6 separate regions of the Homo sapiens genome follow, and regions 2, 3, 4, 5 and 6 are each linked to region 1. Evidence: promoter capture Hi-C in 16 types of primary human blood cells and fetal thymus (Javierre and others, 2016). All regions are on one chromosome and are shown on one strand. The core of a region is centred on a gene start or on the middle of the fragment in contact, and the rest is flanking DNA. Distances in the headings are between cores, read along the strand shown. Region 1 holds the start of ZNF22 (zinc finger protein 22). Region 2 overlaps ZNF485 (zinc finger protein 485). Region 3 holds the start of ZNF32-AS3 (ZNF32 antisense RNA 3). Region 4 overlaps ZNF32-AS3 (ZNF32 antisense RNA 3). Region 5 has its middle 32 kb from the start of ZNF32. Region 6 overlaps LOC105378275 (a long non-coding RNA gene).

Region 1 (5,202 bases), core at 1,282-3,781:
GCCGGCCTGTTTTGCGCTTGTTCTCATAGGCCTTTCCTTGGCTTGAGCTCCGAGAAATACCCGCTTTAGGCTTTGCTAACCTCATGGTGAATAACCAAATGTATTTGTAAGAGAGTTTACAGGCTTCTTCTGAACTAGTGTTTCATTTCCTAGAGGTGTACAGCTCAGAATTTTCTGTGTGTAGAAGGAAAAAAAATTTAGAGATGATCAGAAAAAAAATTACAGATATCTGTTAACTATTCAATTTTAATATCTCTTCAACCCACCAAAATTGCATTCATGTTTAAATTTAAAAAGTATAAATGCAAACAAAGATAATATGGGGGGAAATTTGGGGGAAATACTTGCAAAGTAATTCTAACAATTCCAGAGTTTAAGCTTAACAAATATCACCAAATTTTGACTGAGTTTACCACTGGAGTTTCTGTCTATTGGGACAAGACAAATTAAAAGTGATCAGGTGAAATATAAATCTTCCAAGCATTACCAAATGAGTACATAATTTTGAAGAACTAAAAAGTGGAGATAAGGTAAATCTTAATGGGAATGGAGTAACTCCAAAAGACAATCAAAATTTGTGTAACAGAACATTACTATGCTTTAATATTTAGTTCCATGTTAAACTTCTACTAACTAGTAACTGCCTAAGGTATCCAAATGAATAAGAAATGACAAATTACACTACTTTATGATATATTCCTGTTTATCTGTATTTAGCATTCGATTTCCATAGCTCTAGATGACAGTTTAGCTCTAATTCTGTAGCATAAAGTGTTTTGAAAATTGAAACTTCTCTACAGGGAGTGGTAGGTTTACTTAGTCTATGAAGACACGCTTTATTATTGGTTTTTATAGATCCTAATGATCCAAGAAAGCAATTTGTTGAAAACCCAAAACGAAAGTACTGTTTTCGGAGACAGAAAAACTGCAAAAGAACTTTTACCAGAAAGTGGAATGAAACTGAGTAGAAAACGCATGGTAGGTAGGACACAAGAAAAGGAGAGGGGGGAGAAAATGAGTTTACATGTAAAACTAGGATGGAATTTTTAGAATACCCAAATGCTGCAAAATTCAAAATTTCAAATGATTTTATTTATTTATAAGGCTGACTTGTGGCTATTTAAAATAACGGCCAAAACAAACCAACAAAAACCCCTACAAACCCCACATAGGTGGCAATGTCGGAAAATCTAGAACTTCAAAAGCAATAAAATTATTGGAACTATTTTTCATTATCTTGTGTCAGAATGTGGAATTTAAAATAGAAACAATTATTCTGGGTTTCTTTGCATACAAACATATAAAGCAAATAAATGAAAACAAAAACATAATTTTTCTTGCCTTCCTTTCATCTTATTGTATAATTGAGACTTTAGGTCCAGGACTTTATCTGGATATTTAATAATTACATCAGCTGTAATTATGGTCAGCGTAAGAGTAAGCCGCATATAACACAAGATTACAGTTAGGACTACCCACTCCTTAACTTAAGCAAATATTTACAGAACATCTACCACACAGGAGACATTGTGTTAGGTACATGGTGTTGGTGTTGCTTTTTTTTTTTTTTAATAACTATAATGGTCATTATACATAAAAGCACACGCATTTAATACAATGGAAGTCAGATCTAGTCAGAAACTCAGACTGTCAAATCCACCTACGGATGAGGCAATCATACTAGTATGTGCCAGACACTGTGTAACTTGATTCTGTGCTAGCTCTTTAATTCTCCTGGCACCTTTATGCAGTTATTTCCGTTTTAAGTTAAGGAAACGAGGGCACAATGCTAGAAGGCACTGGCCGGGTTCCCAGACCCTAGCAGTTTGACTCCAGAGCCTGTACTCTTAGTGGCAGCCACATCTTCCATTGCTCAGTCCAGCGCGGCGACCCGTGCTTTGCATAGCTCCCCAGCAGGGGCAAGCACGAAGTTAAACCTGAGTGACAGAAGCTGCTGTTCTTGCACACCCAGCTAACTGGAATGTGCCTCAGTTTCCTCGTAAAATGGGGAGGGTAATGATAAAGTGGCAACACCATCAAGATGTTAGAAGTTGCAATGAGTCTGAATCTGAAAACCGCTCAGAGCAGCCCTGTGCTGCCTAAGCATTTGTTCCACGTATCTAGTCCTCGAACGCTCCGAGCGACGGAAGGGGCCGGGGCTGCTGCTCACCCGCCCAGTTCCACCCGCCGCGGGCCGCGCCTCGCCCGGGCCCCCAGTCCAAGCCTCCCGTTCCCAGCACTCCGCCGGCCGCTCCTCATTGACCCGGCCCGCCCGCCGCGCAGGCCGCGGCCCCACCCTGGGCCCGCGTGGCCCTCCCGCCCCCGCCCGGCGGCCAGGCCCTGCCCGGAGGCGGGAGACGCAAGCCACGCCATCGCCCGGGCCCGCGCCGCCCTCGTTGCGGCCAGCGCGCTCCCGAGCGGACCCGAGTATCCGACGCAGGCCCCGAGCGCCCCAAGTGCCCCAATCCCACTCACCGCGCGGGACCAGCCACCACTCTGGCTCGCTGGGCGCCTCCCGCGCCGCCGGAAGTGAGGGCCTCGCCGCGCTCTGGCGCCGCCGCGGTCGCTCTAGGAAAGTGGCGGAGCGACCCTCTATGGTCCCGGGCCCACCCGAAAGCGTTGTTCGTTTCTTCCTGTGGTTTTGTTTTCTCCTCCCCCCAACTCGGAAGGCGTCCTGTGACCCCCGGGACCTCAAGAGCTGTAACCGCCCCTGTGTGTGGTCGAGGCTTTTGAAACCAAACTCTAGCCTCTCCAACCTAGAAACTGCATACTTTCCACAAATTTTGAGATTTTTGAGACCCTGGTACTTTTCACGAAGTCACCTTAATTATCACCAAAAAGCTCCTGCAAGATGGGAGTGGTTATACTCCATTTACAGGAAAGGAACCAAGGCTCAGAGAAGAAATGTGCTCCGTTCACCGTGTGTAAGCGGACGACCCAGAATTGGAATGGTTCTTTGTGGCTCCAAAGTCTGATTTCAACACACCCCTTTTGTTGCTCATTAGTAATGATCTCTCTTTGTTCTTATTCCTTCCAGGCTCCTCCTCAGCCATCCTGGCCGTGCTCAGTCATCTGACCAGCTGACCTCCGTGTTCCCCCACTCCCTGGGGAGCTCCTCCGCCTTTTGGCTTCCAATGCTATTGCTGCATGCTGAAGACTCCCGCATTGGTAACTCCAGTCTGACTGTGGGACATAAATGTTATTGAACTTTAGACTTGTATATCGAACTGATTACTCAAGAGCTGCATTTGCATGTGTAATGGACATCCCAAACCTAACATACCCCCCAAATGAATTCCTGATATCTACCTAACCTGTTCTTGCAACAGTCTTCTTCCCAGGGATGGGTGAAGATCCCATCATCTTTCCAGTTGCTCAAGCCAAAAACCTTGATGTCACTGTTGTCTCTTCTTTTTTTCATCCAAAATTCACCTGTGATTTATCCACAAATTCTGTCGGCTTCATCGTTAAAATATATTCATTATCAAGCCACTTTCAACACTTCCACTGCTATAACCACCAAGCCACCTTCATCCACCTTCTGGATTATTATATTGGCTTCCAGACGGGTTGCCCTACAGTCTATTCACGGCCCCAGAGTAATCCTCTTAAACCTAAGTTAGATCATGTCATTCATTTGTTCAAAACCTTCAAAGGCTTCCCAACTTATTAGAGCAAAGCCAAGGACCTCGCAGTGGCACCCGATGCCTCTCATGATCTGTCTCTTTAGTTCTTTATTGTGTCTGCAGTGCTGAAAACAGTGCTCAGCAGGGAACAGACACTCAGTAAATAGCTGTTGAATGAATGAATTTATAAGATGCCTTATTGTTTACAAAGTACTTTTACATCTTATCTTCTGGTTATTCATCTTCACCATAGTCTCATGAAGCACAGATTATCATATCTGTCTTGCAAATCAGTAAACTGAAGCAAGAGAGGCTGACCTGCCTGAAGTAATACAGTGGTTTGTTGGTGGAGGCTAAACTAAGTCATAGGTTCATTCTCTTAAGTTGGGGCTTTCTGCTCTGTAGGGAGCTGTCTCTGCATATGGCAAAGCACAAAGCTGAATGAGGTCTGGACAAAGAAGCTCCACTCGCAATCTAGAGAGTATCTGGACTATTGCAGTGATTAAATGAGGTAATGTAAGGCACTTAGCACAATGTATAACACAGAAGAAATGAGAGTCGTTGTTACTTTTATTATTAAATTGTTATAAGTTGGTTGATGCTGGTGGTTGGAGAGTTTGGGGTAAAGGGCAATGGCCAGAGATCTAGAAATGGTTTAGGAAAAGCGTCAGGAGCAAACATGACCCGTTGGGACTGTCTGCTCTATGTACACTAAAATAAAAAGATAATTTTTAAAAAGCCATTTTGTTAGTAAGGTAGTTACTAATTAAAACTAACTCCTTTAATGTCTACATAAAGATGGATTATCCCTTTTTCCTATACCTGAAAACAACTGGGCCAGCCATAGAAGGGCCAGAGGTATGTCAACTAAAGCATTGGGTAAACGAGGATGGATTTTTTAAAAAGAGAGAGACGAAAGTCAGGAAATAAAGGGGTGTGTGTCCCTAAGTGTGGACAGAGTCCTGGGCAGTAAGGATGGAGAGGAGGGAGAGCCAGAAAAATATATGAAGGAGAGGAGGGTAAAGGAGAATGGGAAAAAGACAGGGAGAGAAAGCAGGTAGGGTTTTATGCCTTCAGCCTAGCTGTTAGTATAATAATAGTTAACACTTATTGAGTGCTTATTGTGTGCCAGGCACTGTTTGCAGCATTTGAGGATCTCACGTGAGATTCCTGAGGCATGATTATTCCTGAGGGTTTGCTCCACCTTCTCTGGTTTTGGTCCCTGCACTTTGTGGTGTGACTCCGGTGCCTCCTGGTGAACCACATGCCTGTCCCACTGATGTTGACTTGACCACTGATTTGAATTGGCTGACCGCATGTGACTGGATGCAAGGGGTACATCACATCCCAGAAGAAACTTCAAGTCATTGTGTTTCTGCCAGGACTCTGCTCTTTCCCTCTGCCTTGAGAATAGCATGTCCCAAGTAGGGGCTGCCCCTTTAGTCTAGGAACCAGGATGATAAGACACATGGAGCAGAGCCACAGAAGCTCACATGTAACCACAACGGTCCCACGTAATGTTAGAGAAACAAATGCTCTTGTAACACTGAGATTCTTGGTGGTATTATTGCATTAA
Region 2 (5,202 bases), core at 1,632-4,131, 1.4 Mb after region 1:
ATATCCATCATTACCTTTGTTAATATAAAGCTGATATAAAACAAACTTTTAAAAAAAATCTGTGATATATATGATATACAATTAATTTCCTGAATGTATAAAGAACCCTTCACACTGACAATAAAAAGACCAACAATCTCACAGTAAAACGGGCAAAGGACTGAACAGGCAGTTCTCAGGAAAGATAAATACAAGGGTTGCTCAAAATGTTGAAACATGCTAAATCACACTCCTGATAAGAGAAAGGCAAATTAAAATTATAATAAAATATTTTCACCTCTCAGATTTGCAAGGATCAAAGCATATAAGACACTGCTGACAAGCTATAAAAGTGGCACTCATATGTTGTCATTAGGAGTATAAACATGTATTATCTTTATGAATAGCGGAAATACCCACCAAATTTGGTGGATTTAAAAATTTTAACCTTTAACAATTCTTATAGGAATTTATTCTATAGATTTACTTGTACACAAGAGAATTGATGTGTATGAGGATAATCACTGCAACATTGTTCAGAGTCATTATGTCCACTAAAGATAACTGATTACATAAATTATAGGACATCCATAAAGTGGAACACTATGCAGGCATCAAAAAGAAAGATAAGCTGGCATGGTGATGCACGCCTGTAATCCCAGTACTTTAGGAAACTGAGGCAAGAGGATTGCTTGAGGCCACGAGTTCCAGACCAGCCTGGGCAAAATAGCGAGATCTCATCTCTACAAAAAAAAATTTAAAAATAAATAAATAAAATTAAAAATAAAAAAATTTAGCCAGGTGTGGTAGCATGCTCCTGTGGTCCCAGCTACTCAGGAGGCTGAGGCAGGAGGATCACTTGAGCCAGGAGGTCAAGGTTGCAGTGAGCCATGATCACACCACTGTACTTCAGCCTAGGAAACAGTGAGACTCTGTCTCCAAAAGAAAGAAAGAAAGAGAGAGAGGAGAGAGAGAGAGAAGCTCTAAACAATATAGTTATGTCAAATGACTTCTAAGACATAAATGCCAAAGTAACAGGCAAAAGAGTGTGCTACCATGTGCTTAAAGAATTCATGGATACTCTCACAAAGTATACATCACACCTACAAATCTCCACAAGAAACTGACACAGGGATGCCTCTGGGGAGGGGAACTGAGTGATGAGAAAGGTATGTGAAGGAGACTGCATACCATTTGAACCATCTGAATGTGGTACCATAAGCATGTCTAACAACTAACAGAAAGGGAAATATACACACACAAAAAAAAACATAAAATACTGACTGGTTGTGAAGTCTTTGTAGAAAGATTTACTAGTCCTCTAAGCAGATGAAAGAAATATTAGGGGAAACATTGCTTGTTTTCATTACATCCAAGTTTTAAACATTCTATTTCAAATAACAACCAAAATTAAAACAGAAAGAACAAAGAATAAAGAAGACTGAGTGACTTTTGTTACTATATAAAGAATCTACACAAGAATTTAGGGGGGAAATGTTAAACACAGTAAGAATAAAAGGAATTACTTCAAAAGCATCCCACCCACAACCAGCAAAGACCTAGGTTAAGCAAGACTATGTATTACTGGTATTTTACATGAAATACAGTTATAAACATTCTCCTGAAGAGGATAGAGGCAAAATGACAATTAGAGTTTTAGAAGAAAAAATACTGGCAGGATAAATATTTTAGGTGAGAGAAATATTCAGGCTTAGAGATTCAGAAATGAACTATGGCACAGAGAAAGTGACATACAAAAACATATACAAAGTATACACAGAAAAAAATGAGAGCCAAGAGCAAAGGACAGTAGAAAAGACAAATAAAAGAAGATCCCTAAGAAAAGGAAAGAAAATGCTTCCCCAACAATGTGTTTGCCAAAAATCGCAATTACCTGAGAGCTAAAAAACCATGCTTATGTTTGGAATCTGCAACTACCACCAGGAAGTGGTATATAGTGAGTTAGCAAGCTTCCATGAGAGAGTGGGTAAGGAATGGAAAATGAACATGGGCCAGACGTGGTGGCTCACACCTGTAATCCCAGCACTTTGAGAGGCCAAGGTGGAAGGACCACTTGAGGCCAGGAGTTCGAGACCAGCCGTGACTAATATAGCGACACTCCATCTCTACATAAAATAAAAATTTAAAAATTAGCCAAGCATTGTGGTGGACGCCTGTAGTCCCAGCTACTCCTACTCAGGGGCCTGAGGCAGGAGGACGGCTTGAGTCCAGACTTTGAGGTTGCAGTGAGCTACAATTACACTCCAGCCTGGGCGACAGGGCGAGACTGTCTCAAAAAATATAAAAAAAAGAAAGAAAGAAAATGGAACAGAAGTAGAAAGAAACAAAAGATACCTGGTGAATGCCTGGAAAGAGAGAGAGAAAAATCACATAAAGAGCTTGAGGATTTCAGAAGGCTGGGAGATGGCACAGATGGGCCTGAGGCCCTCAGGAAGGCAGCAGCCCTCCCAAGTGCAGAAAGACTGGGGAGAAAAGCGGCCAGCCACTTGACAGGAGGATGACATCAAAAGAGGAAACCAGTGCCTTTCTGCACCAACAGGGCACTCAAAGATGAGCTTCCACTCAGGAACCCCCGTACTGCTCCGTGTGCTCAGCTTCTGCTGGGATGTTCCCCACCCACTCACCTGCATGTGTGCCTGATGGAGCCTCTCGCACCTCAGTCCAGGGCTCTGCCCCTTGCTCCAACTGAGTAATTAGTTTTGGTTTGGAAGAGAGAAGCCCTGTTCATAAAGAAAAAGGATCTTAGAGGAAGAAAAAAAAAATGAATGAAAAGGAATGTGATGGCGGTTACAAGCACAAGCAGTCACTCCAGACCTCAGTGTCAACTTGAGCATCTGCAATGAGCATGGACAGGTCAGAGAGGCCTAGAGGGTGGCACCCAGGATGTCCAACTCATGAAGTAAAGCAAAGGGAGGGGGCAAAGTCAACTAGAAAACCAGGTCCTCCTGGAGGACGAGAAACTCCTATTTTGGGAGGCAGATGAATCATGACACAGAAACATTCCAGAACTGGGCTAGTTGGCACCACAAAGCTACCCATCTTAACTCTGTATGGCTCTGACCTTTCTTGAGGGGTGTAAGGGGCATAAACTCCAGCCTCTAAGCCCATACTTAAGAAAAACAAAACAAAAAGCACATCATTTAAGATTTTTTCAATACCCCAAACCATTCACCCTGTGAAAACACAAAGTTGCCCAGCAGACCAATCCTGAGTCAAGGAGAAAGCCATCCTCACCCACAGACACCAGATTCCCATAGTTCTCCAGCATCACATCCCTGTACAGGGCCCGCTGAGCAGCATCCAGGTGTCTCCACTCAATCCGGGTAAAGGCCACAGCCACATCCCCAAATGTCAGCGGTCCCTGCAAAACCAAACCCAATTCTGCTCATCCGGGAACCCCTGAGGGAGGCATCCCAAGAGAAGGAAGCAAGGTGGTCAAAGCCAGCTTCTGACAGTTCCAACAGTGCTCATGGAAACCAACAAGTAAAAGCTGAGGGCTCAGGGGATGTGCGACTCCTCCCTTGAGCAGGTTCTTCCTGCATGCCTGTCCTGCTCCCTCCTCCAGGCCTAGCCTCTGCTCACTCCACCCTTCATGTCACCTCATCAAAAAGGTCTTCTATTTCTCCACCCCATCCTCTGCCACTCAGTCTCGAAACCCATTTCACTTTTCTTCACAGGATTTCTCACCACCTGGCAGGAGAGGTTTGCACTGACTGTCAGCATCCTCTCTAATGTGAGCTCCAGGGGGACAGTGTGGGTCACTGCTGCCTCCCAGTCAAAAACACTGCCTGACACAGAAGTGTTCAAGCTTTATTCAATCAACAAATGAATAGAAACTTTGAAAAGACATGGAAAGTGATTAGCTTTATCCGAGAATTTACAGGGAGTATGATCTGACTCTGGGGCAGAATATTTTTAAAAAAGAAAAAAAAATTGCTTTTCATAAGAGTAACAACTTACTATGTACCAGCCACGGTGCTAAACCCTGAGATACATATCATCTCTCTAAATTTCTGCCGTAACTATATAAAGTAAAATCTATTTCGTAGCTAAAGACACAAAGGTTCAGAGAGTTGGAAGAACTTGCTCAAGGTCCCAGGGCTGGTTGAAGGCACAGTATAAAAGGAAGCCACAAAAAGTGGTAATGAAACTAGAACAAATTGGAATGGCTATGAAATACTAAAAGAAAAAATGAGTAAGCCTTAAAAAAATGAAAAGTGTGTTTCAAATGAAATTACTTGACTTAGAGCAGTAGAAATGTAGGTGATCTTTAATTTTTTTAATTTTATTTGTATAATAGACACTCAAATGTTTATCACTTCCTTTCAAAATACCAATTATTTAATCAGCTTCTCAAAATCCTTCAAAACCTAGTTTTCTCCAGGATAAAAGCAAACTCCAGTCTGGGATTCTAGACCATGAATGTTTCCAACTTTCTCAGACCAGTTTGTTCATGGTCCCGCCATAATGACTTCATTCAGGCAGCGCTTTCCCCTAGTATCCTCTGCAATTATGCAAATCTCATTTATTCTTCAGGAAGAACTAAGGCGCCCACTACTCCACCCCTCCCACCCTACCACACACTAAAGGTCAAGAGAGCACTGCTATCACCCTATGTCTTTATGGCCTACGTCTTTACATGCTAACGTGTATTTTTTTCATCGTCTGCCAGTTTGCAAAGCACTTTTCTGTTTCTAGCACTCTAGAAAACATGGGTAGCAATAATCTACTTGGTGAATGACTACGTAATGGGTAGACAGGACGGAAATCGCGGGACCCATCCAGGATTGGTTCGGGTAGCTTTGTCCACACACAGGGCAGGGCATTGTCCGGGCAAGAGGCATAAACCCCACCTCGCTGAAACACGTGGTTTCTCAAGAAATGGAAAAATCAAACTTGCCTGGATCTGGGCTCTTGGGGCCATCTGTCTCCTGAACTGTTCTCCCAGGCAAGGGCTGAGAATCCTGCGTAAGTCAATCTGGGAAAGAAGAGAGGAAATTGAGGAAGTCCCTCCGTGCCCTAGCCTAGCTAGAATCTGCCCTCTAGACCAGGTCCCCGCCCGCCCGTTCCCTCCACAGGTGGGCAGACAGGTCCAGGTGGGTACGCTCGGGAAGAAAGGAAAGGGAACGGCTGCTGGGATCCGGCCTGGACTGCAGCCAGCTCCACGCCAAACACTTTTGGCAGCACCGGGGGACGGCCTTG
Region 3 (5,202 bases), core at 1,543-4,042, 1.4 Mb after region 1:
ACATTCTTCTGCAGAAATACATATAAATCCAACCTAGTGGTTCCTGAGGACATCAGCATCACCTGGGAACTTATAGGAAATGCAAATCCTCAGGGCCTATCCCAGACCTACTGACCCCGAAACTGCGGAGATTGCGGAAAAGGGAGGGAGAGACAGCACACTGTGTTTTAACAAGCCTACAGCCCATTCTTCTTACCAGCTGCACAGTTTGACTCTCAACCCTACCAGACTCTCTAGGCAGACCCAAAACTCCCTTCAGGGCAATAAAAGAGCAGGAAGAAAATTCCAAGCAGCAGGTGGCCTGGATTACCCTACTCCTTACACAGGGGGTTGAGACAGTGCATGTCTGTCCTCCTTTTCCACGCCAAGTTCCTCATTGCTAGGGCTTCCATTCAAGAATCAATGCCACAGAAAACTAGAAAAGTCAACAAGGATGAATAAATACATGATTTCTTACCTAATTTTGATGTCAAGTCACAGGAAGGAGTACAGACAAGTCAACCATGCCAAAAAGGCCCCACACATGCAAACTCAAAGGAACATCTTCATCTTCCCTTTTATCATGGGCACAGGTCTCTCCCAAAGTCCCTTCCACACCATCCACCAAGTCCAGTTCACCAGATCACCTGTAGCCCTGCCCTGATTTTGTTTACTTTACTTGCATTTGGGGTCATTATGATGTCGTTGCCATAGGGTCAGGGACTTAGTGACAACAGAATGTACAATCCAGCCATGACCAAGACTTGTGTTTCTGCAGTGCTGAATCTCACCTTACTCTTAGAGAGCCTCATTCCTTTGATTAAAGAATGCAAATCACTCTACAATTCTGCTTGTTTTCTAATTTCTATCTCTTCCCAGTAATTCTGGCCAGCCTGCCTAGTTTTTCTTGATTTTACTGATTATACTCCTTTTATGTTTTCAGGCCACTAACCTCCCTAGCTTTGCCATAGTCCGAGATGGCGACTGTAATCAATACATCTCATTCAACACAAGCTACAGATGTGATGGAAAAACTTGTTTTACTATTACCGTAACCTTTCAGGAAGTTTCTTGGGGTTTTGCCTATACAAACATCTCATATAATCCTGACTATAGCCTGTTGTGACCCTGTCTCTGCTTGCTTCAAGGCAATACTCTCTCCCTCCCTCTTAACTCCAACGTTGAGTCTCTTGCCTTAAAGCCATTGTACACATTATTCCTCTTTGCAGCAATCATCTATCACCTGGGTCACCCCTTGAAGATTTTAGTTCCTGTATCATTATCACTCACTCCAGCTCTACTGTCATCACACTTGGAGTGCTTATAAATGACTCATCACTTTTCCTCCTTACTTCCAATGAACTTCCTCTCCAGAAGACCAGAGCCACTCACCTCCATCCATGATCATATTTGTAACTTCTGCATTATTAATCCAACAATGGTCTCAATTTTAATCATCTCATTTTCTGATTATCAACTCCTGTCTTTGCATCTCACTTCCTCTAGTGAACTAAAGCCAATAAATTGTCAGCTGCATCAATAATTCATGGATCCTGCTACTCTCCCACTACTCTTCAACCTTCCTTACCAGCTTACATTATATGGTCCCTCTTTGAATCAATCACCTGCTTGCAAACACCCTCAACTCCCATATCTTGCTATTATTTTTAAAAACAGTTTTATCAAGGCATAATTCACATACAATAACACTCACTTATTTTAGGTGTACAATTCAATTATTTTTAGAAAATGTGCAAAGCTGAACAACTAACATTGCAATCTATCATTAGAACATTTGCACTACACCATTAACAAACTTCATTTCCATTTGCAATCATCCCTCATTGCTACCCTCTGCTCCACGGGACCATAAATCTAATATCTGTTTCTATAGACTTGCCTTTTCTGGACATTTCATATAAAAGGAATTATACAATATATGGCTTATTTCATTTAGTATAATGTTTTTGAGGTCCATCCATATAGTAACATGTATCAGTACTTTATTCCTTTTATTGTTGAGTAATATTTCATTGTGTGAATATAGCAGATATTGTTTATCCAATCATAAGTTGATGGACATTTTGGTTGTTTCCAGTTTTTGGCTATTTTGAAAAATGACGGCTGGATGCGGTGGGTCACGCCTGTAATCCTAGCACTTTGGGAGGCCGAGGCAGGTCGATCACCTGAGGTCAGGAGTTCAAGACCAGTCTGGCCAAAATGATGAAACTCTGTCTCAAATAAAAATACAAAAATTAGCCAGGCATGATAGTGCATGTTTGTAATCCCAGCTACTCCGGAGGCTGAGGCAGGAGAATCGCTTGAACCTGGGGGCAGAGGTTACAGTGAGCCGAGATCGCGCCACTGCACTCCAGCCTGAGTGACACAGCAAGACTCCATCTCAAAAAAAAAAGAAAGAAAGAAAGAAAAATGATGCTATGAATATTTACATATAAGTTTTTATGTGGACATATATTTTAATTTTCTTGGGTATACCTCAGAGTAGAATCACTGGGTCATATGGTAAAACTGTATTTAGCATTTTAAGAAACTGGAAAACTGTTGTCAAAATGGCATTTTACATTTCCACCAACAATGTATGAAGGCTCCAGTTTCTTCACATTCTCCCCTGTATTTGTCCATCCTGTGTTGCTATAAAGCAAGCTTGTCCAACCTGCAGCCCAACACAAATGCATAAACTTTCTTAAAACATTATAAGAATTTTGCAATTTTTTTTTAGCTCATCAGCTATCATTAGCGTTAGTGTATTTTATGTGGGGCCCAAGACAATTCTTCCAATGTGGCCCAGGGAAGCCAAATGATTGGACACCCCTGCTAAAAAGTAATACACAAGTCTGGGTAATCTGTAAAGAAAGGAGGTTTATTTGGCTCACAATTCCGCAGGCTGTACAAGCATGGTACCAGCATCTGCTCAGCTTCTGGTGAGGCCTTAAGAAGCTTACAATCATGGCAGAAGGTGAGGGGGAGCCAGCACATCACATGGTGAGAAAGAGAGTGGGGTGGCAGTGGGGGAGGTCCCAGGCTCTTTTAAACAATTAGATCTCAAGGTAACTCATTACCACAGGGAGTGCACCAAGCCATTCATGAGGGATCCACTCCTATGACCCAAATACCTCCCACCAGGCCCCACCTCCAACACTGGAGACCACATTTCAACATGATAATTGGAAGGAACAAATATCCAAATTATACCATCCCTCAACACTTGTTAGTGGATTTTTATTACAGACAACACTCCCTGGGGCATAAAGCATCAGTGGCATCTCATTGTGTTTTAATTTACATTTCTCTAATATCTAACGATGTTTTCATGTGCTTATTGAACTTTCTTTTTTTTTTTTTTTTTTTTTTGAGACAGAGTCTCGCTCTGTCACCAGGCTGGAGTGCTATGGTGCGATCTCAGCTCACTGCAACCTCCACCTCCTGGGTTCAAGTGATTCTCCTGCCTCAGCCTCCCGAGTAGCTGGGACTACCACACCCAGCTAATTTTTGTATTTTTAGTAGAGATGGGGTTTCACCATGTTGGCCAGGCTGGTCTCGAACTCCTGACCTCGTGATCTGCCTGCCCCAGCCTCCCAAAGTGCTGGGATTACAGGCATGAGCCACCACGCCCGGCCTCTTTTTATTTATTTATTTATTTATTTATTTTAGATGGAATCTTGCTCTGTTGCCCAGGCTGGAGTACAATGGCGCCATCTCGGCTCACTGCAACCTCCACCTCCCAGGTTCAAGCAATTCTCCTGCCTCAGCCTCCCAAGGAACTGGAATTACAGGCGCATGCCTATTTCAAGTAAAACTATGATCAAATAAATGTGCATGCCTTTTCTATTAATCTGCCTTTTGTCAGTGATTTTCAGCAAACTTTCAGAGGGCAATGGGGAAGTTTTCCCTTCGCTTTTACATCCCAAACCAAATTTATAGTTATACCTCTTATATTTAGGTCAATTATCTTTCTTGATTTTTATGTATGATGTAAAATGACTAAACGTATATTTTTTTACATGAGGATATCCAATTATTCCAGCACCATTTGTTGAAAAACCTATCCTTTCTCCACATTGAATTGCCTTGGCACATCTGTCAAAAATCCATTGGTAATGGGCTCAGGTGATCCTCCCGTCTCAGCCTCCCAAGTAGCTGGGACTACAGAGATCACTTGAGCCCATTAAAAAAAAAATCCAATGATGGTGGGCCCGGTGGCTCACACCTGTAATCCCAGCACTTTGAGAGGTTGACGCAAGAGGATTGCTTGAGCCCAGGAGTTCAAGACTAGCCTGATCAACATAGGGAGACCCCATTTCTATAAAAATATTTTAAAATTAGCCAGTGTTGTGTTGCACATCTGTAGTTCCACCTACTCAGGAGGCTGAGGTGGGAGGATCGTTTGAGCCTGGGAGGTCGAGGCTGCAGTGAGCCATGATCTTACCACTGCATTCCAGCCTGGGCAATAGAGTGAGAGACCCTGTCTGAAAAAAAAAAATCCACTGACCAAAAACATAAGGGTTTATTTCTAGAATCTCTATTCTGTTTGATGGGTCTATATGTCTACTTTTATGCTATGACCACAGTGTCTTGATAAATGTAGTAGCTGTAACATTGTGAAATACATAATATATAAATCATTTCCTAGCATACAACTCCTAAAACCCTTAGAAACACCAAAGTGATGTCTTATTGTATGTTAATGCATTGACAGCCCCCCAGGTAGCTTCAGGATGGGGCTGTCACCATAAAGACCAAGGGAGGATTACAGGGTTGGGACTTTCAGGCCTACCTCCTCTGGAGAGGGTTGAGGGACTGAAGGTTATGTTGATCACCAATGGCCAGTGGTTTAAACAATCATGGCTATGTAATGAAGCCTCCATAATAACCTCAAGGACAGGGTTCAGAGAGCTTCTAGATAGCAAAACCTATGGAGGTTCTGGAGGGTGGCACACTCCAGGAGGGCATGAAAGCTCCATACCCCTTCCCACATGCCTCACCCTAGGCACCTCCTCATCACTTTCCTTTGTAATATCCTTAAGAATAAACCAGTAAATTTAAGTAGGTGTTTCCCTGAGTTCTGTGAGCTGTTCTAGCAAATTAATTGTGTGGTGACAGCAGTTATGTAAATGGAACCCAAAGAGGTGATTGTGGGGGCCCCAACTTGAAGCTGGTGGGTCAGAAGTTTTGGTGGCCAGGGCTTACCTCCAGAATGCCTCC
Region 4 (5,202 bases), core at 1,201-3,700, 1.3 Mb after region 1:
CCTCATAAATAGATTAGTGTCCAGGGGTGGGGCTGAGTAAGTTCCTGCAAAGAGCCTGGCATTTCCCCCTTGCTTCCTCTCTCAACATGTGATCTCTACACACAGAGATCCCCTTCACCTTCTGCCATGAGGGGAAGCAGCCTGAGGCTCTCACCTAATGTTGGTGCCATGCTTCTGGTACAGCCTGCAGAACTGTGAGCCAAATAAACCTCTTTTCTTCAGCTGGGTGCAATAGCTCACACCTGTAATCCCAGCACTCTGGGAGGCTGAGACAGGAGGATCACTTGAACCCAGAAGTTTGAGGTTATAGTAAGCTATAATTGCTTCACTGTATTCCAGGCTGGGTGACACAGCAGAACCCTGTCATTCATAAATAAATCAATAAACAAACAAACAAATAAATAAATAAATAATTTTTTAAACTCTTTTTCTTATAAATTACCTAGCCTCAGGTATTCCTGTATAGCAACACTAAAAAGACTAAGATATGAGCAAATGTGATTTATGTCACTACTGGGCTGTGCACTTAATTGCCAGTATAAGATGTTCCAAAGCTTTCTTATCTCTCTGCCATAGTAACTGGCACTGTAAAGATACTGGCTGCTTTGTCAGCTTGGGTTGCTGAATGTCTACAATGAGTAGAATTCCCTGCAATAGGATAGCATGAGAATGGAATAGAGAAGAAATACACCTTTTTGACTTGTCACTAGGATTTTACTGTTTTTGCTGCAGTATAATCTAATCTACTTTCACTGATACAACTTCTTTGGTGGTAATTTTTAGTGGAGATGTAATTTAGACACACAAAAAAATGCAAAACATTCATTTCAATATGCTTTGGTAATTATATTACTCCTGTGCAATCACTGTAAACAAGAGATGGTGCATGTCCATTACCCCAAGTGTTTCAAGTTCTTTCCAACTAGTCCTCCCACCTTCTTCCATCCCAGAGAAACTATGCTCTGGTGTTCTGATTTCTGTCATCATAGATTAATTTTTCTCTTCCTGAGCTTCATATAAATGGGATCATATTGTCTGTATTTGTGTCTTGCTTTCGTTCAATCCACATAATGTTTTTTTGAGATCAATGTATATTGTGCGAGTCAGGTGAGCATCCTTTTGTTGTTTGCTGACTACTATTCCATAGTATTAATGTGCCACAGTTTGTATATCCATTCTACTATTGATGGACATTTGGTTGTTTTCCCTTTTGGGTTATTCGAATAAGGCTACATTCTTGTGCAAGTCTTTTTGTAGACGTGTTTTATTCCTGTTGGCAAATACCTAGGAGTGAAATTTCTGAACCATAGGGTAGATGTATCTTGAAACTTATAAGAAATTAACAAAAGGTCTCTAAAGTTCTCCAGCCATTTTATACTCCTTTCAGCAATATTTGAGAGTTCAGTGCTATATATTCTTGCCTATATTTGGTTGCGTTGTCTTTTATAATTTTAGCTAGCCCAGACTGCTGTTAGCATTCAGTCCAGAAGCCCTCGGGAGAGAGGGCCTTTGCTTTCTTTCCCAAAAAAGTCTTCCTTAACAAATGGTGCTCAAGCACTGATTATTCACATGGAAAAAATGAACTTTGACCTCTACGTCACTACATACACAAAAATTAAAATGGGTTATAGACCTAAAAATAAAAGCTAGAACCATAAAGCATCTAGAGGATAACACAGGAGATTCTTAAAAAAAAAAAAATTAGAGTAGGCAAAGGGTTCTTAGGACACAGAAACATTAAATCATTAAAAAATGATAAATTTGACTTCATAAAAGTATTTCTCCCAAAATACTTGAGTTATAATTAATTATATTTGAGCACCACCATGCCAGGCTAATTTTCATATTTTTAGTAGAGACGGGGTTCCACCATGTTGGCCAGGCTGGTCTTGAACTCCTGACCTCAAGAGATCTGCTCACCTCACCCTCCCAAAGTTCTGGGATTACAGGTATGAGCCACTGCGCCTGGCTGATTTTCTTTGTATTTTCTAATGCTTTGATCCTTTTTATGTCATAATGATTTACCATATTTTGTAAACATTTTAGACACCAGAAAGTCCCCAGGCAGGACCTGATGGCTCACGCCTGTAATCCCAACACTTTGGAAGGCTGCAGTGGGAGGATCTCTTGAGCCCAGGAGTTTGAGATCAGCCTGAGCAACATAGTGAGATCCTGTCTCTACAAAAAAATTTACAAATTAGATGGTGTGGTGGTATGTGCCTATAGTCCCAGCTACTCAGGAAGCTGAGGTGGGAGGGTGGCTTGAGCCCAGGAAGTTGAGGCTGCAGTGAGCTATGATCTCCACTGCACCCCAGCCTGGGCAACAGAGTGAGACCCTGTCTCAAAGAAAGGCTCCAAAGTCAGAATCTATCGATGAATTCTGTTTTGTATTTTTGTAATTTCTACTTACCTTTGCCAGCTTGACTTTAATAATGGTGAGTCAAATTGTCTAACATATTTTGTCAAATTGCTCCTAACTCTACATCTTATGTCTTTATGTCAAAAAGTAACAAAATTCATAAAGTTTCAAAGACATTATCCTTAATATTGATAATAATTTTTGTTAAATGCTGTTTATACATATTTTGCCAATTGCAGTTGACTAAACCATGCCCTTTTAATATTAATATTGGTGTCAGTGCCTGTGATCCTATTTGGCAAAGGCTTTCTGGTTATTCTGCTGCTGCCCAATGCATATCCCGTCATGAAAGCCTGGTGAGTTGGAAGGAACAAGGTACTTGAGTCAGACCTGGGTAGAATCCCACATCGACTGCTCACTGGTTGTGAGATCTTGGATATGTGTGGTAACCTCTCCAAACCATGGAGGGAAGAACAATGCCTACTACAAAGGATGAAATTATAGATTCTATGCAGCAATGGCTACATACACACATCTGTGACCAAGAGCGACAGACGTGGACTGTTTCCAAGCCCATTTTTTAAATTATATTTATATTTGAGCATAGTGGTGCTCAAATATAAATATAATACCAAACCATCACTATGGTTTGGTATTTTTGAGACAGGTTCTCACTCTGTTGCCCAGGCGAAGTGCAGTGGCACGATCTTGGCTCACTGTAGCTCCGCCTCCCAGGTTCAAGCAATTCTCGTGCCTCAGCCTCCTGAGTAGCTGGGATTACAGGAATGCACCACCACGCCCAGCTAAGTTTTGTATTTTTAGTAGAGACGGGGTTTCACCATGTTGACCAGGCTAGTCTAGATCTCCTGACCTCAAGTGATCCACCCACATCAGCCTCCCGAAGTGCTGGGATTACAGGCGTGAGCCACCGCGCCCGGCCGCAAGCCGGTCTTTAGGGGATTTTGTGTATTCGTTATGGTTTGGAATTTATTGGGTGCCTAATATACACAATACTTGTATATTTTAGACAAGTCAACATTTAGAAGCCCATCCAGAAATCCAGAAAAAGTTCACACAGATGGTGCGGAGTGATGGAGAGAGAAGAAGGAGGTGGCAGATCTACTAAATGATTAACAGGAAAGCTGGAAGGACCCGTGTAGGGAAATCGTGGGAGGTGAGGGAGCCCCCGCCCCATTGGCAGTGCCTACCATGGACACCTGCAGAGCAGGCCCAGCTTTTCATCTTCCTTATCTATTTACTGTCTTGGGATAAGGGAGCCACATTCTTGTTTGCTTCCATCTTTTACTAAGGTCAGCCAAGAAATCAGCCCAGTTTTGATCCTAGAGTTATTATCCTAAAACAGTATCAGTCTCATTTAAAATATATCTAGGCTGGGCTCAGGGGCTCATGCCTGTAATCCAAGCACTTTGGGAGGCCAAGGTGGGCAGATCACCTGAGGTCAGGAGTTGGAGACCAGCCTGGCCAACATGGTGAAATCCCATCTCCACTTTAAAAAACAAAAATACAAAAATTAGCTGGGCGTGGTGGTGGGTGCCTGTAATCCCAGCTACTTAGGAGGCTGAGGCAGGAGAAACATTTGAACCCAGGAGGCAGAGGTTACAGTGAGCCAAGATTGCGCTATTGCACTCCAGCCTGGGTGACAGAGCAAGACTCCATCTAAAAATAATAATAAATAAATATACTGGTAATGAACACACAAAACTTGGTTTGCCCTTTATGGAAGTGTAAGTCTTTAATGATTTTTGGTTTCCCTCCGTCCACTTTCCCACCTGTTTCTATTCTTTATTATTTAGCTCATGATCTTAAACGCTGGTTTAAAATGATACTATCTTCTCTTCCATTACTTACGTGTGTGTGTGTGCATTATGTGTTTTGTATCCATTTCCTTGGCCCTTCCTGTTGGAGTTTAGTGATTTTCCTGAATTCCCCATTACTTCAAGTAGCTTCGGGGCCACCACAAGCTTTCGACACCCCCCATGAGCCTGGGGGTGCTGTTGAGTCACCTGGTGCACATGGCATCTTCTGCTGGCCTCCCCAAAAAGGAGACTCTGAGACAGGCTTGGGGCTAGTCGTTTGGGAAGCACTGTCAGCCACTGAGCAATGAGCCAGAACCAGAAGCTGTGCCACACACAGGTGCAAGAATGAGTGGGGTACCACTGTGGCAAATTGGGTACAATCCCACTGAGGCACTGTAAGAGAACATGAAACACGGCAGGACTGACTCACGGAAAAGGGGGTGAGCTGGGATAGTCCTCCAGGAACTCCTAGTCCTTATCGATGGAAGGTGCCTCCTGGAAGCATTAAATCCCCAGCACCTGAAGCTGGGCACACCCACAGGGCAGGCAAATTCCTGTGGCCACTGAAAGGCCTCAAGCAGGGAGCTCAAGTTCTTGAGGTGGGGAGCCCTCGACATACAGGGACATTGGCCACCAAAGCACAAGGTGAGCTCAAGAGATGTCAGGGGCGCTACCAGCAGCTGCTGCGTGCCATGTTTTATGAAGTGTCAGAGCATGAGGGGCTCTGCCAACTGAACGTGGCTGGGAACGGCTGCCTTATGGTGCCCTTCACCAACATCACAGAACCTAGGCCATGGGAACACCTTCCCAGGAGGACCTCCAGGTATGGACCAATGCCAGGGGCCCAAAACTGAAGTAACAACTTCTCCTTCTGCTGTAGAAAAATTGCAGAAAAATATTGTCTCTAATTTTATTAGAAGTACTTCTAAATGTAAAATGTTTCCAATTAAGTATTTTAAATTTGTATCTCTCTAGGCATTTCTGAAAATGTTATTCGGAAAAATGTAGGAAAATACTTTTCAGCAG
Region 5 (5,202 bases), core at 985-3,484, 1.3 Mb after region 1:
TTCTGATTTTCTCATACTTCTCCTGGTTTCCCTAACTCCACATTCTCTTAGTTGTCCTCCTCTATCTCTGGCTACTCCTTCTCAGTTTTCTTTGCCAGTCCACCTTTTTCTAACTGTCTGTATATGTACAGACGACTCAAGGGCCAGTCCTTAATAAGCTCCTCATCTTCAAACTCCATCTTCTCTTCCCAGGGGGTTCTCATTCATAACAACATTCATTACCATGGTTACCTGGCTAGATGCTCACCAACCTCTGTTCCTCTTGTGGGACACATAGACCAACTATAATTCCCAGTTTCTCTTACAGTTACGTTGGGGACACATGACTGGGTTCCAGCTCATGGGACAAGGACCAAAGTGGCATACAGCATAAAACATCCTGAACGAGCCCTTTTGTTCTGGAACCTGAGTTCAGTCACCATTTGGAAGATGGCCATTCAGAGGAACATTCTGACCCACAACAGACTTTGTGAGAGCAAGAAATCAACTTTTATATGTTCACTCACTGAGATTTTCCAGGGTTTGTTTCAAAAGCGAGCATTAATTACCCTAATACACGTCTACCATCTGCCGGTAGCTGACTCCCAAAGGTACATCTCTACCTAGATCTCATCTCTGAGCTCTGAATCTGAATATATGTGTCTCCTCAATATCTCCCATCATAAGTCCAAGGGCCTTTCTTCCAGAATATGCAAACCTGACCTCATGGCACTGCCAATTGCTTCTCTTCCTGGGTTCCTATCCCAGTGAATGGCACCTTATCCATCAGCTGCTGAAGCCAGAAACTCGGAAATCATCTTCCATGTCTTCTTTCCCTCACATTCCCCAATATGCACCATCAGACATCTAGTCTATCCCTAAACCTAGTGGATTTTTCTCTCCTAAGTTGTACTTTTTCACCATTACTTCCCTAGTACCAGCCACCATCAGCTCTTGCCTGAGCTGCTGTGAATCCTCTGTTGCACACCTTTAATCTGCACACCTCTAACCCTGCAGTCTAAATTTTCAAAGAACAAAACTAGCCACAGCCCTGGCTGACTATTGCTCCCAGAATAAAAAGTTGGCATCCTCAATGCAGCTGCAAGACCCCACCTGATTAAGTCCCTATGAGTTTCCCAAACCTCATTTTATGTCCCTCGGCCCTCAGGCTCAGCGCTCCAACCACTTGGCCCTTCGTCCAGTCCTTGAACCCACTGGGCTCCTTCCTTCCTCATAGCCCATGCTGCCAGGTGCCACGACCCTGCTCCACAGAGACAGAGAGTTCTTGTGCCCTCGCCTGCAGCCCAGGCTAGAGGCTCCACATGTATCACTACACCTAATCCTCGAAACAATCCTCTGAGGTATGTGTTTTTATGCACATCCTATAGATGGGAAATTTGAAGTTCTGGGGATTTAGGAAACTTTTCAAGGTTTACATATCCAGTAAGTGATAAAAGTAGAATTCAAATGTCAGCCTGCTTGGCTGCAGCGTCCGTGCTGTCACTCCCTGCACTGTGAGGGAGACACCTGCAATGGTTGAGAGGACCATGGTGGAGGACCAGGAAGGATGGGCTTCATTGAGGAAGAATCAAGGCCCCAAAACACCCATTCCTGGAAAACTACAGGCGACAGGACCTGCAGGGATGGAGGAGGAAGCCAAGCCAATAACAAGGCTGGCGCTCTGCCTGAAGCATCTGCTGTGCTCCTTCCTCTTCCCAGGGCCCCAAAGGGCTCCAGTGATTGTCCCCACAACTCATGAGGGAGTCCACGACTAACATACTTAACAGTATTTGATAGCTAGTGGATAATTTTCTTATCATCAAGGAAATTATCGAGATAATTCCACGTCCTCATCACTATCACACATTTATAAAGTGTCTTGCCAAGCACAGAGAGGAAATTGGTTTTTAAAAATAAAAATGCTTATTGAGCACCACTGGATCCAAAGTTTTAGGTTGTCAAGAGATGTGATCCTTATTCCTGTGAAGCTTAAGTACCCATTGGGGTGTGTTCTGGTTATCCACAATCATGGAACAGACAAATCCAAACTTAGTGGGTAAAAACAGCCACTGCTTCTTTATGTCTCATTTTTTTGTGGCTGGGGAAATTGGGCAAGGTTTGGCTGGGTGACTTCTCTGTCCCACATGGCACTGCAGAGATCACTTGGTGGTATTCAGCTGGCAAGCAGGCTCTTCTGGAGGGACCAAGCTGACCTCACTGACACATCTAGTGACTTGGAAGACATGGGGGATGGCTCAGCCAGGCCTATCCATCAGAGCTCTATACAACAGACTACTACCGAGCAGTAAAAAGACAAATTACCGATCCATGCAACAAGCTGGCTGAATCTCAAAGGCATTACACTGAGTAACAGAAGCCAGTCTCAGAAGTTACATACTCTATGATTCCATTTATATGACATTCTCAAAGCAGACAAAACTATAGTCATGGAGTGGGTACCAGGGGCTGGGGGTGAAGGAAGGGACAGTGTGACTATAAAGGAACAGCATCAGGAAGCTTTGGGGGAGATGGAACAATTCTGTGTCCTGATTGTGGTGGAACAGCCCATTCCCAAAAGGTCACACTTACTGCATGTTAATTTTAAAAATAAAATAACTTTGAGTCAAGTAACAACTTCTTCTGTACTGAATACATGAGCACAGAAGTAATTCTGAATAGAAGTCTGAGCAGTCTGTGCTAGGGACATGATGTGTTGAAGAAGTGCCTCAGTCCATTGTGTGCTGCTATAACAAAATACCCGAGACTGGGTAGTTTATAAAGGAGAGAAATTTCTCTCACAGTCTGGGGGCTAAGTGCAAATTAAGGCTCCAGCATCTGGTGACTCATTCTTGCTGAGTCATCCCATGGTGGAAGGTAAGAGGGCAGGAGAGGATGAGAGAGGGTAGGGGAAGGCAGAAAAGGCAGGGCAAACACCCTTTAGTAAGGAACCCACGCCTGTGATAACGAACCCACTCCCAAGATAATAGCGTCAATCCATTCATGAGGGCAGACCTTCCTAAAGGTCCTGCCTCTTCATATTGTTAAAATGGCAATTAAATTTCAGCATGCACTTTGGAGGGACATTCAAACCATAGGTGGAAGTGAGGAAGGAATCCCTACCATGAGCCTCACCCTTCATCCAGGGCTCACCCGGTTGACTCCATTCATCCCAGCAGAACTCTGGGGAGTGGAGCCATGGTGAGTCCTGTCATGTCCCAAACAGGCATGAGGAGAAAGGCACAGAAAGACTCCGAACCTAGGAGAAGTCCGGGCCAAGTCAGCATGCTCTGGTTTCCCCGCCTCCTGGTTACCAGAGCTCCTTGGGCCATGCCAAGTCAGCATGCTCTGGTTTCCCCGCCTCCTGGTTACCAGAGCTCCTTGGGCCATGCCAGCACTTGACAGCAGGCACCGGGACACCAGCCAAAACTCCTCAAAACCGCCTCCCTAAGTTGCACTTGTCAGCAATTAAAACATTTGTCAAAGAGTATTTAATCCTAGTGTTATAAAGTGCTATGGCAAACAGATTTGGCTCGATATTTTTAAAAGTTCTGCAAAATGGCTACTCCCAACTGTAATTCAATTATGTTACTATGGCTTTAAACAAAAACAGTAACTAAAAAGATCATATTTTGATGTACCAGGAAAAAGTCATTTGGAACCACAAAGTCATCAATACTTTTTTAAAAATAAAAATAAAAAATAAAAATAATAATTCCAACTATAGAAAGGATCCTTAAAGCCAAGCCCCAGAAACCTCATTAGTCAAAGGACAAATACAACACACAGGATAGCAGAGGTCACGGCACTTACACCAAACTGTGGAAGAGACTGCGTTTTCTTGGGAGACCTTCAACTCCTTTTACCTCCCTTTCTGTTCACCACATTTGGCAGGGTTTATCCCCTTGAATTAGGAGTAGTGTGAAAACCAGTGGTTATTGTAAATCCAGAGGTTGTCGTAAATCCAGATCATAGACAGATATTTCCATCAGTCGAAATGTATGTGTGAGTAGGATTTAATTTACATGAAAGGGTGTTTGCCAAATGTTAACAACTGGTGGCCTGAGACGGTGCTGGGAGGTAGCAGGAAGCGAAGTGCAAGGCTGAGGAAGACCCTCTATAAGGGCCAGGGCCTGTGCAGAGACGTGGCGGGCAGCATGGAGATGGGGAGACAGAGCAGGCAGAGGAACATGGCAGACGGAGGAAGATGGCTGCGAGCAGAGAACATGGCAGACGGAGGAAGATGGCTGCGAGCAGAGAACATGGTGGGCAGACAGGGAAGATGGCAGCAAGCAGTGAACACAGTGGGCAGGAGGGGGCGTGGTGGGCTTGGAAAACGTGGCATCAAGGATGGAGAACTTGGTGGGCAGGGAAGATGGTGGGTGGTGAATATGATGGGCAGAGAACAATGCAGTCCCCAGACAACCCTTCTCCTGCCTGGATTCTGACTGATGGTGCAGTCTCCAGACATCGCTCCCTGCCTCCACTACACCCAGATAAGAAGATGAAAATCTCATGCCAGCTGCCCAAAGTGGAACACTGCCCCTTAGGTTTCCCTGAGGGCCACCCCTGCTTTCTTCTCTGCCTATGAGTTCCTAAGCATCAGCAGTATCATTGCATCTGCCATATATCTCCGGTTCTGCCCTCTGTCTTCATTTTTTTTTGTTTGCTTGCTTGTTGCTCGCAAATAAAGAATAAATGAGGAATAAATAATCTTTTAAAGAAGCCAAGTTGTGCCTTTTGTTCATGGTCCCCAAGTCATCTTAGGGCAGAGTTGTCTGATGGGAAGGGTACAAGTTAGACTCGATAGATTTTTTTAATGTTTACTCAACACACAGGAACTAGAATTCTAGAAGAAGGAAAAGGCATGCAGAGATACAAAGTGAATCACGTTATGACGATCAGAGGCACCAGCAAAAAAGAACACACAGCCCTCACCATCACATGAGGCTCAAATAACATGCTATGCCAACACATGAAGTAACTCCTGCAGGAATTACAAAGACAAAGTAGAATAAACAAGTGTCCTGGGATGTTTTATTGTACCTATTTTAATATACATTTATGACAGATTAAGTACATTAAAATGAAAATATATAAGGAATCTAATAATATATAATGAGTCCTTGGTTCAGACTCTTTCGGAATAGTACTTGTGGGGCAGATATAATAATAAATCATGATTTCAATTACAAAGGAAAAATGAAATGTTAACTCCAAATCCAC
Region 6 (5,202 bases), core at 1,860-4,359, 1.2 Mb after region 1:
CCTCAAATACCAGATTCCAATTTCTTCAGTTTTGGAACTGGGACTGGTTCTCCTTGCTCCTCAGCCTGCAGATGGCCTACTGTGGGACCTTGCGATCGTGTGAGTTAATACTTAATAAACTCCCCTTTCCTTTGGCAACACCCTGGCAGGCACACCCAGGATCAATACTTTGTATCCTTCAATCCAATCAAGTTGACACTCAGCTTTAATCATCACATGTAGGTATCCTCTAGGGCCCATAAAATGAGGCACCAATGCTTATTACAGCATTGTTCAGAGAAACTAAACAAGCAGAATTTTATATTTATTCCATTAGTTCTGTCCCTCTAGAGAACCCTAACTAATACACTACGCTTATCCAAAGTTTTCCATATTAGCATGGCAAGAAAGGTCACGAGTATCTTACAAAGGATTAATTTTTTTCTTGTTTGTTGGAAAATTATTTCATTGTTTTTTCAGATGACTAGCAACCCAAATATACAGAATTCTTGGATCACAATCTTTTTCTCTCACTCCCTTTTGTCTTTCCTTCCCAAATATTGTTGGGATAATTTGGAGCAAGAATGATCTTTTTCCCCTTATAAATGATTTTCTTCTTTCTGGTGCTGACAGGATTTATATTCATTTTTGAAGTATAGTCGCTTCCATGGAACATGTCTTGGTGAATGGTTACTTTCTTTTTCCTAAGACATGATAAGCACTCTTATCTAATAATTCAGATCTTTTGTCATTTCCGGAAAGTTTTTTTAAACTATTTTAAAAATCCTTTCTAACTATAATTTTTTTGTTCCAAAGTGCTCTTTTCTCTATTTGAAGTGCATCAGTGGTGCACTGGAACACATTTGCCTGTTGCTTGTACTTACCATAGTATTCAAATCCCCCTCTAACCTTTGCATACTGTATAATTTCTAAAATCTCATCCATATGACAGTTCCATTTTTGACAACATCAATTCTAATAAACTCAGTAGTCCTGTGGTGCTATATTTGTTCCTCTCCATGTATCAATTCTCCTTGCCTCTCATTTTTTGATCTCTAAGTTGCAGAGCTTGTGGTTGTATTTCTTTAAAAGTATGAGTATTTGTTGTTCGAAAATATCTTATTTAGGTAAGATATTTAGGTACCTTACTTAAGCAAGCGTTCTTCCAAAAGAATTTTCTCTATATCCTGCAAGCTGCTTTTTAAACAATGTTTAGGAGAGGAAATACAGAGTGCTTTCTTTTTGTTTTTGTTTTGCTTTTCTCTTCTGCTGACTTTTCTTTAACCATTCATTTAAGGCCTGTTATCTGCCCCTAGACACTTTAAATGAATTATCCTCAGCTTTCCTGACTGTTTATTTGAAGTGTCTGGAATTCCACTTTAATGTTTCTGTTGGCTTTTTAGCAATACTTCATCGCATTACATTTGGAGTGATTGTTCTAGAAATTACAATACATTTCCTTAACTTTTACCGCCTACTTAGAGCTAGTATTGTACCACCCAACTTAAAATATAGAAATCTTATGACCATAGAGGTTTGGAATAACATTTGAATGCTACTCTTAACTCAGAAACTTGAGTGCCTGAAGTTTATGGTTTGTATTTTTATTCCATTTTCCAGTAGTCTGATGAAGATAAGAAAAGAACTTCCTTGTCTTGAACATACCTCCTAAATTCAAAAAGGAAACAAACCATTGCCTTTTGCCTCTTGTGCTTCCTCCCCATTTGTGAGCACATACATGCAAGCATGTTCATACACACACACACACACACACACACACAACCATACACTTGTACAAATGTAGGCTCTCATGCTGCATATTTATGTTTTTAAAAACTGTTGATCATTTGGAAATCATTAAGATTTTAACTCCTTCACCAGTTCATTGCTGTATGAGGAGTGGAACACACACTGTGCTATAGCACGCTTTGGGCACACTTCTTGCCCTCCCCACGTTCATGCCCTATGTACCTTTGCAATACTCTCCCCTGGGGCAGGGAATAATTATAATCCTCTGATCATCCAACACAATGTGAAGATAATAAAAATTAATTTCAAAAACAAAATTGCACATTTGGAAAAGATGCAGGATTTCATGAGTTCACAAGAAATGTCAGGGCCTGTCTGATCACATCACACCTTCCACCTGTGACTGACTCAGACCAGTCACCAAAGAGTTAAGAAAGGCTCTTGACAACATTGTTGAAAGCTTCTAATGCTTTTGCAAAAATAACAGGCTTTTTAATTTGCTGGGAAGGGGTGCTCTTGTACCACTAGCCTTGAGCTGTGCCCATGATAATCTATAAGAAAATAAGTTATAGATCACAACAGATCAACACATATTTTTTTAAATGATCAATTTTATCACAGCTCAGTGGTAAGTTTATAGAACAAAAAAAAAAGAGTGTCACTTGATAATGAGAAGAAACCTTAAAAGAACAAATGTTAAAGGGCAAACAACCCCCTCCTCCACCACACAGACACACACACACGTATACAGACAATCCTTAAATTCAAAGGCAGTCACTTGCCTCTTTCCTCTAGGAAAATCTAACTTAATCCCTTCAATGATCCCAGGTCTTCAAAAACAAAACCCTGGATTAACACCCTGAATTTAAAATCTGGGTGTCTTGAATGTCTTTGAAAGTACAATCTCAAAAAGCAAAGAAAAAATTTTCAGGTGGGAGAGGAAAAAAAAATACCTACAACAGAGAGAAGAAAACACATAATATCCCAATAAAATATCTTGGCACCTGTATGCTTGGCTGTACATGCACCTGTGTTGTACATGCACACATGTCCATGGGTTACCCTGGCCCCAACTTACACGGGGAAGGTAACTGTATGACCTATCCACACATCTGGCTGCTTCTACCCCAGCTAACTGACAAATACTCCCAAATATTTTGCTATTGGTTGATTTGACAGCCACTCTGGAATAGTTGGTTGGCAAGAGGTTTTAAAGCAACAGAAAACCCAAGGTTGGATGGATTTGCCATCCCCTCCACTTAGGTAAAATGGCTTCCAGTAAGGGGTTGTGCCAGTATTGGCTGCTAGCTAATTTAAGGTCCAATGGAAAATGAAAATAAACAAGTATTAATCCTGAGAACCTTTTTGTGGAGTTATGAAAACAGTCTGTTATAAAACGCATCCAGATGTCAGCCAAGAGTGAGTCAATTGGAATAATAGCTTCAAGTGAAACCAGCAAAGGGCAGCAGGTCAGGCTGTGGGGATTCTGAGGAATGCCCACTCACAGACCCAGGAGCGCACCGCTGCACACCAGCCTGGAGCCTCGCCCACGACACAGAATTCTGTTAAACGATCTATAAAAAGAATTTATGGATCCCATGGACCAACATCGATTTTTTTAAATTAATTTTGTCACAGCTTAAGGGCAGGTTTATAGAAGACCAAGACAAAAAAAAAAGCGTCATTTGATAATGAGAAGAAACTTTAAAAGAGCAACATTTTATTTGACAATTATTAAATTTTTATACCAGTGAAAACAGTTTAATTTTATAAAGACCTATAAAACAATCTCCTGTTGATACACTAGCCCTGTTCTTCAAAAACACATGCCTGAGGATATTTACTGGAACATTTAATATTAAGACCTCTGAAGTAATCTACAAGTCAATCTGTGGAATATTGGTTAAACAAATGATGGTACACTTCTACAGTAGAACCAAATGCAAGTGTTTCTTAATTAATTAATTTTTTATTTATAATTGAAAAAATGCAAATGTTGAAAAGGGTGATAGACCTCCTTGACAACTGCTGTGAAATCATGTCTAGCATAAATTAAGTAGGAAAAAGCAAGTAACAGAGCATTAAACATCATTATTCAGCCATCTTTGCATAAATCAGTCTATCAATCTATGTTTCTCTGATTGTCTATGCAGGAAAAGTTCTAGAAAGAAGCCAATGTTCATGATGGCCACCTCTGAGGAGTGTAGGAGCTGAGGGCAGAGGAGCTTTTCCTTTTTGTGTTGTAGTTTTCTATACTGCTTTAATTTTTCACGTTAGCATGTATTGTTTTTGTAAAGCTTTTTAATTAATTGGTTTAAAAGAGAAGGGGAGGGAAAGGCAAAAGAGCAAGCGGCCTGTTGGAGTGGAAAGCTAACTAATGGGGCATTGGCAATCTGGTTCTTAAAAGGAAATGGGACTCCTATGAAAATACAGAAAACCTCTGAAAATGCAGGAAGTCCAACAGTCACCACAAGGGAAACAGTTTTACCCACTGTGTTTTCTCAAATGAGTGAGCAATTGCCTAAAAATACTACACTGTGTGGTTGCATGTGTTCAGTCCCCACTCAGGATCCTGATAGCATCTCAATTACCTGATGCCAACTTCACTTTAACATTGACTTTTTATTTTAAAAACAAATTGCTGATCTTTGTCCGTGGAAAAGCTGTGAAGTATTTCGGTCCCTGCCACCTATCTGGAGGCCTCATGAGCTGCCACTGGAAACCTGTGGCTGTCAAGGACCATGAGATTTCCAGGTGCAATGTGGGGATAGAAACTCCTAGGACCATCTCAGTGCTGAGCTCGCAAGGGAGCCCAACACAATGAGTGGTCCCTCTCCAGAAGCAGGCATGCTGATTATGTGACGGGATGCCTGGCGCATCTGCAGGAGAAGCCAGCCTGCTGGGTTAGGCCAAATCCCCAACTCTGCATAGTCATGAGTGGGAGGTCCTTGCGACGTGGGTTGGAGTAAGGAAGTTTTTGCAAAGAATGTAGGGATTCCACGATGCAGTGTCCAGTGCCCAAAGAAAGTCGGAACTTCATGAAGCCCCAAAAGTGAATCTAAACATGCATTAAGTTGAGTGGCCAGGGGGAAAATGCTAATATAAGACCTGGGTACAGATAGTGGGGTTAGGAACCCGAAGGATAAGGTGTGAGCAGATGGGCTGAGACAAGTACGAGTAGTAAAGGGCGGAAATAGTCTGTTTCTGTGGCCTGCCTTCAAGTTCCAGCCAGGGATTGGGTCCACTTAAAGCACCAGGAATGGGAGGTTTGCCCTCCCTTTGCAGGGCAGGGCTCTTGATGCCCTGTGTATTCTGGGCTATTGCTGAGGGGGATGCTGGGTCCCAGTGCTGCGAGCAGTATGGGAGCTCACATCTCCTGGGCCGCGCCCTCCTGCTTGCTTTGCTACAGCCTCGGCGCAATCCTTTGCTTGGCTGTGGATTTATTTATGTACCCAGGGTGCTGTGAATGAACAC

Evidence for each region. Contacts are between HindIII fragments. The CHiCAGO score rates a contact against its expected background, and 5 or more counts as called.
Region 2: a fragment that was not itself captured here is called in contact with the fragment with the promoter of ZNF22 in region 1 in 1 of 17 cell types (activated CD4 T cells); the score reaches 6.9 in activated CD4 T cells.
Region 3: a contact is called between a fragment that was not itself captured here and the fragment with the promoter of ZNF22 in region 1, in 2 of 17 cell types (total B cells and activated CD4 T cells). The highest score is 5.2, in total B cells.
Region 4: a contact is called between a fragment that was not itself captured here and the fragment with the promoter of ZNF22 in region 1, in 8 of 17 cell types (total B cells, total CD4 T cells, non-activated CD4 T cells and 5 more). The highest score is 13.4, in total B cells.
Region 5: a contact is called between a fragment that was not itself captured here and the fragment with the promoter of ZNF22 in region 1, in 6 of 17 cell types (total B cells, naive B cells, total CD4 T cells and 3 more). The highest score is 9.1, in total B cells.
Region 6: a contact is called between a fragment that was not itself captured here and the fragment with the promoter of ZNF22 in region 1, in 1 of 17 cell types (total CD8 T cells). The highest score is 5.4, in total CD8 T cells.

The regions. Positions count from the first base shown.
Region 1 is chr10:44,998,252-45,003,453 of GRCh38, reverse strand. ZNF22 (zinc finger protein 22) reads right to left here and starts at 2,531. Exons shown (of 2, transcript NM_006963.5): 1 at 2,476-2,531; 2 at 1-174. The coding sequence starts at 85. It overlaps LOC124902530, which reads right to left. Exons shown (of 3, transcript XM_047426129.1): 3 at 1,071-2,674. The coding sequence ends at 2,045. ZNF22-AS1 (ZNF22 antisense RNA 1) reads left to right here and starts at 2,651. Exons shown (of 4, transcript NR_126421.2): 1 at 2,651-2,924; 2 at 3,038-3,168; 3 at 4,032-4,137. RefSeq lists an enhancer at 1,915-2,415 and a silencer at 2,142-2,491. The HindIII fragment of the contact is 6,687 bases long and covers 381-5,202 here.
Region 2 is chr10:43,606,773-43,611,974 of GRCh38, reverse strand. ZNF485 (zinc finger protein 485) reads right to left here. Exons shown (of 5, transcript NM_145312.4): 2 at 4,901-4,978; 3 at 3,235-3,361; 4 at 2,625-2,720. The coding sequence starts at 4,924. Among named protein-coding and RNA genes, the nearest start is that of ZNF485, 2.9 kb to the right of the region's middle. The HindIII fragment of the contact is 1,859 bases long and covers 1,952-3,810 here.
Region 3 is chr10:43,624,234-43,629,435 of GRCh38, reverse strand. ZNF32-AS3 (ZNF32 antisense RNA 3) reads right to left here and starts at 619. Exons shown (of 5, transcript NR_038867.1): 1 at 458-619. The HindIII fragment of the contact is 294 bases long and covers 2,646-2,939 here.
Region 4 is chr10:43,657,996-43,663,197 of GRCh38, reverse strand. All of the region lies in intron 1 of ZNF32-AS3 (ZNF32 antisense RNA 3), which reads right to left. Among named protein-coding and RNA genes, the nearest start is that of ZNF32, 12 kb to the right of the region's middle. The HindIII fragment of the contact is 3,787 bases long and covers 557-4,343 here.
Region 5 is chr10:43,677,861-43,683,062 of GRCh38, reverse strand. No RefSeq gene overlaps it. Among named protein-coding and RNA genes, the nearest start is that of ZNF32, 32 kb to the right of the region's middle. The HindIII fragment of the contact is 529 bases long and covers 1,970-2,498 here.
Region 6 is chr10:43,807,360-43,812,561 of GRCh38, reverse strand. All of the region lies in intron 2 of LOC105378275 (a long non-coding RNA gene), which reads right to left. Among named protein-coding and RNA genes, the nearest start is that of LINC02658, 31 kb to the right of the region's middle. The HindIII fragment of the contact is 1,837 bases long and covers 2,191-4,027 here.